2 separate regions of the Homo sapiens genome follow, and region 2 is linked to region 1. The links are contacts of gene promoters, found by promoter capture Hi-C in human tissues and cell types (Jung and others, 2019). All regions are on one chromosome and are shown on one strand. The core of a region is centred on a gene start or on the middle of the fragment in contact, and the rest is flanking DNA. Distances in the headings are between cores, read along the strand shown.

Region 1 (3,839 bases), core at 1,340-3,839:
CACCAGGGTGGTGGTCACTTTGCCCCTAAAGATACAATACCCCAGAAATGTGCCGTTTCTTACCAAACTCAATCTTACCAAGCCCAAGAGTGAAAAATTAAAATTTAAATTAAAAAGAAAACATAACACACAAACTTTCCAGATGAGAGGTTGCAAACTTAAATGCCCACAGGGGCCAGAAATGGGTGAAGTGTTCCCCACTGGGATCAACTGAGACAAAATGGTAAGGCTGTTCCCCATCTACGACGACGGCTCTCAGCTCCAAACGATTGTTTTCAAGCGAAAGTGAGACCATTTCTCAGCAAAGTTAAAGTTGGAAATTAGGATGTGTATGTGAAATCTCCCAGTTCTAAAACGTTCACATCAAATTCACAAGTAAGACACCCTAAGGGCTACACAGAGCTGCGGGTAACTTTTGGTCCTGGAGAGCCAATTTGCAATCTGTCTTTTAGACATGAGCCCCAAAGACGGGGGAGGGGGACACTTTACACGTGATCAACTCACCACCAGCAGGTTTGATACCCCTGGTTAGAGTCCAGGATCTCAAGCCAGATGCAAGAACTCAGGTAACCAGTGCCCTGGAGACCTTTCTGTTTCAACCCAGAAGATAGGGTGATTTAAACCAGGATCTGAGAAACACTCCCTCTGGAAATACTTCTTTCAGAGAGAGAGGAGGCCCAGGCGACAAACACAGTCGCCTTTCTAGGGGATGCACCATCTGCAGAGGAGCGGCAGCCACCTGCAGAGACCTCTGCAAGGCAGGGAGAGGCAGAACCTCCCTGGGTGAGATAAGGAAGGGACATGGGCAGAGAAAGGGGAACTAAGGAGGACAGGTTCTCCCAGAAACGTCCCGGGAAAACACTTTCTCCCCCAGCGGAACTGACCATGCCAGGATTGCTTCAGGAGACCGCTTTGACTCTTCCAGAGCCGGGAAGGCAGGAAGGGTAGGTGAACTTCCTTGGCATGTAAGACTCCCAAGCGCCATCGGCCCCAGTCACACACACACCCCTTGAAAGGACCCTGTTGTGGTGAAGAATTCCTAGCCTGGGAGGTCACTCCGACCAACGTGATTCTTTCACTCTCTGCCTAACTCAGTAACTTCTTCTATAAAGTATTTTTCACCCTCTCTTCCCACAAATAGCATCCCCAAAGCCCCAGAGCCTACCTTGGCACTGGAATCCCTGCTTCCCGAAGCCCCTGCAAAAGCAGAAGGAGGTGTATGTCAGGCAGCCCGGGGGGCCCAGCCTCCAGCTAGTTACCCACAGAGTCACCCGCCTTCCTCCCTGCCTCTGTACCCCAGGTGCAAACTCCCAGCCACAGGCGGGTGCCCAAGAGTCTTCCGCCTTTGTGGGGGTAGGTGGGAGCTCGGCTGTAACCCCCATCTGCCTTCACTCCTGCAGAAGAGAGGAGGCTGCGACCACCAGGTGGCGGGATAGTGGGGAGCGTTTCCGTCGGGGTAGGGGCTGAAGGCAGGCGACAGATGTACCCATAGATGCCCCGAGCACCCTCGGGAAAAGAGAAGAGATAAAGACGCATTCAGAGGGAGGGCGAGAGTGACCCCGCGGCGGTGGTGTCCTCTGGGAGGGGGACTGGGAAGGAGGAAAGGATGCCCCACTACTGGAGGGACTGGGGAAGAAAGGGGCCCGCAGTGATGTGACCGAGGAGTGGAAAGGGGAACCCAGGCCCTCGGGGAGGGGCAATGGGAGATAACACAGGGCGCTGCCCGGAGGCACAGAGGAGTGAGAAAGGATGTCCCATGCCCGCAGGGAGATAGAGAAGGACACCCAGGGCGCCGCCCCCCCCGGAAACAAGGGGTGGGGGGCGAGGGCTCCTCGCGCCCGGAAGCAGGCGGAGAGATAGGGAACCCCGGGTCGGAGAGCACCCGAGGCGCTGCCCTCCAGGGCAGGCACAGACCCCGCGCGCTCCTAGTCAGGTGGAGCAAAGGCTCCCGCGACGCCGCCCCTGGGCGCTCTAGAGGCGCCTGAGAGCAGGAGAGGGCAGGAGGCGCCCCGCGGCGGCCCGTCTGGGACCAGGGTGGGGACAGGGCAACGGCAGGACTGTCCATCCGGGAGTCCCGGGCAGCAGGGTCCGGAGCCGGGAGTCCGGAGACGCGGGGTCCCAGGGTGCGGAGGGCGCGGAGGGCGCAGAGGGCGCGGAGAGGGGGTCCCTGGCGCGGCGCTGCCCTCGGGGGCCCGGGAAGGTGCCCTGCGCGCGCGCGCTCACCAGATGAAGTCGGTGCAGTGGCTGCAGAAGGTGGGCTGCTTGAAGAAGCGGGCGGTGAATTTGTGGTTCTTGACCTCATGCACGTTCTTCTGCCGGAGGGCGCCTTTGCGGGCGAAGCGCACGGTGCTCTCCTCGCCCTCGCTCGGCGGCGGCCCCGCAGCCGGGTCAGCCATCTTGCGCGCGGGGAGCCGGAGCCCGAGAGGTGCCGGCCCCGGGGCCGCGGGACCGCGGGCTGCGGGCCGGGGAGGCGCGGGAGGCGGCGGCCGCTGCTGCACCCGGGGCCGCGGGCGCTTCCCCTGCGCCGGCTCTGGCGGCCGCGGCGCGCGGAGCCGGGGCTGTCACTCGCCCAGCTGCTGCCGCTCGTCCAGCTGCGCTTGGCACCGCTGGCCCCAGCTGCGGGGGAGGGAGGCGGAGCCCCGGGCCAGCCCCGCCCTCCTCATTTGCATCGCGCCCAGGCCCCGCCCAGCGCTGCCAGCTGCTTTACATATCGGCGCCCGGGCTACCGCGGGCCTCGCGGCTAAGCGTGCACAGCCGCAGCTCTGCAGCGCCGGGACCGCAGCCCGGGGTCGTCGGACCCGAGCCTCGCCCCCCACCCCACCCCGTCCTCGGCCCCCGGGGCTGCGTTCAGGAGATGTGCCCAGGGGAGGAGCGAGAGTGGAAAGACCTACGGGGCGAAGGGGAGCGGGTGGAAGGGGTGGGGCGCAGCGAATTCCACCCCGGCCTCTGCGGAGACTGGTACCCATCCACCCCCATCCATCCCATTGGTCATTCTGCACGCGTCTCCTGGAGGGATGGGCTCCCGCTGTCACTCATTCGGAAAGGCTTGTGGCCGCACACACTTACACACACATACACACACACGTTCTGCAGAGGTAGGGGAGGAGCGATCTTTATTTTATATGTCTCTAACTCCACCACAGAGAAGATTCTTGGCTTTGCTTGCCTCCTGCACGTTTGGAAGAGAACTCCCTACCTTCTGTCCATCCCCTCTGCAAAACGACTCCGTTTCCCCAACTGTAACATAGGGCTAATAGTGTGGGGAGGAAGGATTTCAGTAGATCAATATTTTTCCAAATTTCATTCATTTCTGACTCGTCTTCACAAATTCTGGTCGTATTTGTGCACCCTCTGGGGGAAAAAAAGCCTATCTCTTTTGGTCTGAGTTTGAACAGCAAGAGGTATCTACATTATTAAAATATCTCCAGGTGCCGTCATCTGTCCTAAGCATCTTCGACTGAAGTCATCTTTTATTTGTTAAGAGAGGAAATTAATAAATGCTAGAGGGGTGTTAAAGACATTACTATCCAACCAGGACTCTCTCCTTGATGTGATCTGAAGGTAACTGAAAGGGTAATAATTGTCTACAATGTGTAATTCAATGTTATTTAGCGCCCTGTTCATGCACAAGGCCTAAAGATACCCACTGCCACCATGTCCCCCACTCTGGGAACGCAGAGCTTCATTAGGCTGTGAGCTCCTTCACCAGACCTAGGCTCTGTGAGAGCAGGGGGGCTGTTCACCACCATGTCGCCCAGCACCAAGCTCAGTGCCTGACACCTCCCAAGACCCCAGTAAATATTGGTTGATTGAGTGAGGGCATGGATGAACAAGTGAAT
Region 2 (4,269 bases), core at 642-3,141, 610 kb before region 1:
TTGATTAAATCACTGGCCATTGGTGACTGTCTTCCTTTCCAGCCTCTCTTTCCTCCCTAAAGGTTGTGGGAGTGGGGCTGAAAGTTCCAAACTTTTTGTTTTTGTTTTTTTTTGAGACGGAGTTTCGCTCTCGTTGCCTGGGCTGGAGTGCAATGTCACGGTCTTGGCTCACTGCAACCTCCGCCTCCCGGGTTTAAGCAATTGTCCTGCCTCAGCCTCCTGAATAGCTGGGATTACAGGCGCCCGCCATCATGCCCTACTAATTTTTGTATTTTTAGTAGAGACGGGGTTTCCACCATGTAGGCCAGGCTGATCCGGAATGCCTGACCTCAGGATATCCACCTGCCTCAGCCTCCCAAAGTGCTGGGATTACAGGCATGAGCCACCGCGCCTGGCCTGAAAGTTCCAAACTTCTAATCACATGGATGTGATTCCCTCTGGCAACCAGCCCCAAGCCTGAAGCTATCTAGGGGACCCCCCCTTGAGTCATTTGCATATACCATTAGCATATACTCAGGTGTGGTTGAAAGGACCTTACTATGAATAACAACAGATGCCCCTAACATTCTGTCACTCAGGAAATTACAGGAAGCTCTTGTACCAGGAACTGGGGAGAAAGACCAAGTATGTATTTCTTATTACATCACAATATTACGGTTTCCCAAATGAAAACGAGCAAAAGTGAGGTTAATTGTTGAGGTAGGGCTGGAAACAACAAATTCTATAGACCAGGGGTCCCCAACTCCTGGGGTCACAGACCATGGCCTGTTAGGAACTGGGCTGCATGGCAGGAAGTGAGCTCGGCGAACCAGCATTACTGTCTAAGCTCCATCTCCTGTCAGATCAGCAGACGCATCAGATTCTCATAGGCGGGAGAACCTTATTGTGAACTGCGCATGTGAGGGGTCTAGGTGTTGTGCTCCTTATGAGAATCTAATGCCTGATGATCTGTCACTGTCTCTCACCACCCCTGAATGGGACCATCTAGTTGCAGGAAAACAAGCTCAGGGCTTCCACTGATTCTACATTATGGTGAGTTGTATAATTATTTTATTATATATTACAATGTGATAATAATAGAAATAAAATGCACATTCAATGTAATGTGCTTGAATTATCCCCAAACCATCCATCTCCCTCCCTGCTGTCCATGGAAAAATTGTCTTCCACGAAACTGGTCCTGGTTGCCAGAGAGGTTGGGGATGGCTTCTACAGACTGTAAACTATAGGGGAAAACCTATAGGGAGGCTCAGATAAATCTGCTTCATAGGTAAGAGCAGAGGCTCAGAGGGAATTTGTCCACCTTCAAAATGCCCCTTGTTATGTGACCCTGGGAAGGTCATATAAAGAAAGTTACAAAAAGAGGAGAGGCTGGGCATGGTGGCTCACCCCTGTAATCCCAGCACTTTGGGAGGCTGAAGCGGGTGGATCACTTGAGGCCAGGAGTTGGAGACCAGAATGTGCAACATGGTGAAATCCCTCCTCTACTAAAAATACTAAAAAGTAGCCAGACATGGTGGTATGCACCTGTAATCCCAGCTACTCCAGAGGCTGAGGCACAAGAATCTCCTGAACCCGGGAGGTGGAGGTTGTAGTGAGCCAAGATCACACTACTGCACTCCAGCCCAGGTGACAGACTGGGACTCTGTCTCCAAAAAAAAAAAGGAATATCAGTAACTGCTTCATAGGGCCGTTGTGAGGACTGAACGAAATGATACACATGAAGCATTTAGCAGGGTGCCTGGTTCATTGCAAGTATTGACAAAACATGCCCTCCACATCCAGGGGGTGTGGGGAGAGACAGTCTAGTCCCTGACCCCAGCCCTGACCAGCTTAATACCTACCCTAGAGCCCACCCTTCGGAATGGAGTGTAAACTTCATGTTTAAAGCCTTCTGGCACTGAATAGAAAAGATGTAGCTCGGAAAACTCTTTTAGTTAGGCTCATGGCTCTAGGGCTCAGTCGGAGATTATTTGTTTTTTCTTTTTTTCAGTGCTGCCAATGCTGGGGATGAGAGTTGGCAGAAAGAGGGTTTTTAGAGGATGGACTTTTTTTATTCCCATGAGATACATGTAACTGTCAGCTGCGCCTCCCCCTGTGAAGGTGTTATTGAGCAAATGGGCTTGCAGCCTGATGTGCATGGAAGCCAATAACTGTGGCACCAGAATTTGAGAAAAGAAAGGCTTTACTGCGAAACCGGCCAGCAAGGAGACAGGAGTCAGGCTCAAATCTGTCCCCCTAGGGCTAGGCGCAGTGGCTCACGTCTGTAATTCCAGAACTTTGAGAGACTGAGATGGGAAGATCTCTTGAGGCTAGAAGTTCGAGACCAGCCGGGACAACATAGTGAAACCCTGTCTCTGTAAAAAATAAAAAATAGCAGGTCGTGGTGTTGTGCACCTATAGTCCCAGTTACCTGGGAGGCTGAGGAGGGAGGATCGCTTGAGCCTGGGAGGTCGAGGCTGCAGTGAGCCATGATTATGTCACTGCACTCCAGCCTGGGTGATACAGCAGTATGCTGTCTCAAAAAAAAAAAAAAAATCTGTCTCCCTGATTTGGGCTCTGGGACAAGTTTTAAAGAATCAGAGGACAAGGGAAAAGATTTAGGAATGTTAGCTTGGCAGGGTTTGATTGGAGGGCTTCAAATTTGACCATTTATAGTAAGATATGTTGAGGTTGGGCTGGGCATGGTGGCTCATGCCTATAATCCCAGCACTTTGGGAGGCTGAGGTGGGTGGATCACCTGAGGTCAGGAATTCGAGACCAGCCCGACCAACATGGTGAAACCCTGTCTCTACTAAAAAAACACAAATTAGCTGGGCATGGTGGCACACACCTGTAATCCCAGCTACTCAGGAGTCTGAGACCGGAGAATTGCTTGAACCCAGGAGGCCGAGGCTGCAGTGAGCCGAGATCGTGCCATTGCACTCCAGCCTGGGTGACAGAGCAAGACTCTGCCTCAAAAAAAAAAAAAAAAAAAAAGATATGTTGAGGCTGATTTTGGCCCAGATCTTTCCAGCCAGTGAAACCCTTGCTTTCGAAGAGTTCTGGTGTTCAGGTTTCGGCCATGTCCCGGTCTTCTTGGTTCCAAAGGGGAGGAATTGTTGGTTCTTGGTCTTGTCAAAGCTTTTTCTATTGCATATGCCCAGGCTGCCTGACTTGCAGCTTTTGGCTCTGTTACGTCTAAAAGACAAGCCCACATTTGCTTATAAACAGAGTAGGCCCAGTTTGGGCTGGTCCCATGGTTACAAAGGGAAGTGACTCAGTCACCGAAATCAGGAAGCATAGATTAGCCTATTGGGACCAGGACTTTGGTGCCCGTCTGACAAGGAAAGAGATGGGTCCCAGGCAGCAACCACCTGCCCCTTCTTGCTACTGCATTTCATGGCTGCCACCATAGCATGCATGACTACGGTTTCTGAGCAGCAAAGGCTGGGGTGGGGCCCAGGAAGTCACAAGAACCTTCTGTAGGGATGTTCCCATTTGGGTCGGAAGGGTGGATGAGACTAAAAATACCACCTACATGACATATTTACTCTGCTCTTGTTAATACCCTAGAGAGATTGCCAAGAGTCACTACCACCAAGCCTGTGATTAAGCCGTAATAACCACTTTTGTGTTTATAAATTTTGTCCTTGATATCAGAGAGGAGTATTTTTAGGCTAGAACTTGGAGCTAACAAATCCCATTGCAGGAGTGCGGATTTAGGCAAGCATCTCTCAAGGAGAACTTCCCAGGGCACAGCAACTAGGCCAGGAGAGATCTGTCCATAGGAATAAATTGGGAGGCTCCAGGCACCATGTCTCCATCTTGTGGAAAGCTTTGTAGGGAAAACTCTCCCCAAACTGCACTTTTCCTCTACTCTCACGCTACAACAATCATCAACACAGAAGAAGACTTCTGTGACCAAATGTGTGGGTTTTTTTCCCCACACACCAAGCAGTGGACCCCAGCTGGGTGTCCTCTAATTCAGTTCCTTCACTATCTACTTGGAGATAGTGTCAGATCCCAGGCTCAGTCCCCAGTACTGTCCCCCTACCACACTAGTTGCAAGTCTGGCCTCTGGAACTTCAAGTTGGGGTTCCCATGATTCACTGAACTCAGGGAAACACTTACTTACATTTGCCATTTGTGATAAAGGATATTTCAAAGGATACAGATGAAGAGATACATAGGGCGAGCTATGGGGGAAGGGGCGTGAAGCTTCCATGCCCTCCCTGAGTGCAGCATCCTCCAGGAACCTCCACGTGGTCAGCTATCTAGAAGCTTTCT

What was found. Contacts are between HindIII fragments. The study calls those that stand out against the background at their distance.
Region 2: a fragment that was not itself captured here is called in contact with the fragment with the promoter of PRKCB in region 1 in 2 of the 25 tissues and cell types used here (dorsolateral prefrontal cortex and mesendoderm cells).

Annotation. Positions count from the first base shown.
Region 1 is chr16:23,834,733-23,838,571 of GRCh38, reverse strand. It overlaps PRKCB (protein kinase C beta), which reads right to left and starts at 2,589. Exons shown (of 17, transcript NM_002738.7): 1 at 2,224-2,589; 2 at 1,166-1,197. The coding sequence starts at 2,396. RefSeq lists enhancers at 1,484-1,623, 1,887-2,432, 2,433-2,980 and silencers at 1,934-2,013, 2,344-2,423, 2,454-3,093. The HindIII fragment of the contact is 26,630 bases long and covers 1-3,839 here.
Region 2 is chr16:24,439,477-24,443,745 of GRCh38, reverse strand. No RefSeq gene overlaps it. Among named protein-coding and RNA genes, the nearest start is that of RBBP6, 98 kb to the left of the region's middle. The HindIII fragment of the contact is 9,139 bases long and covers 1-4,269 here.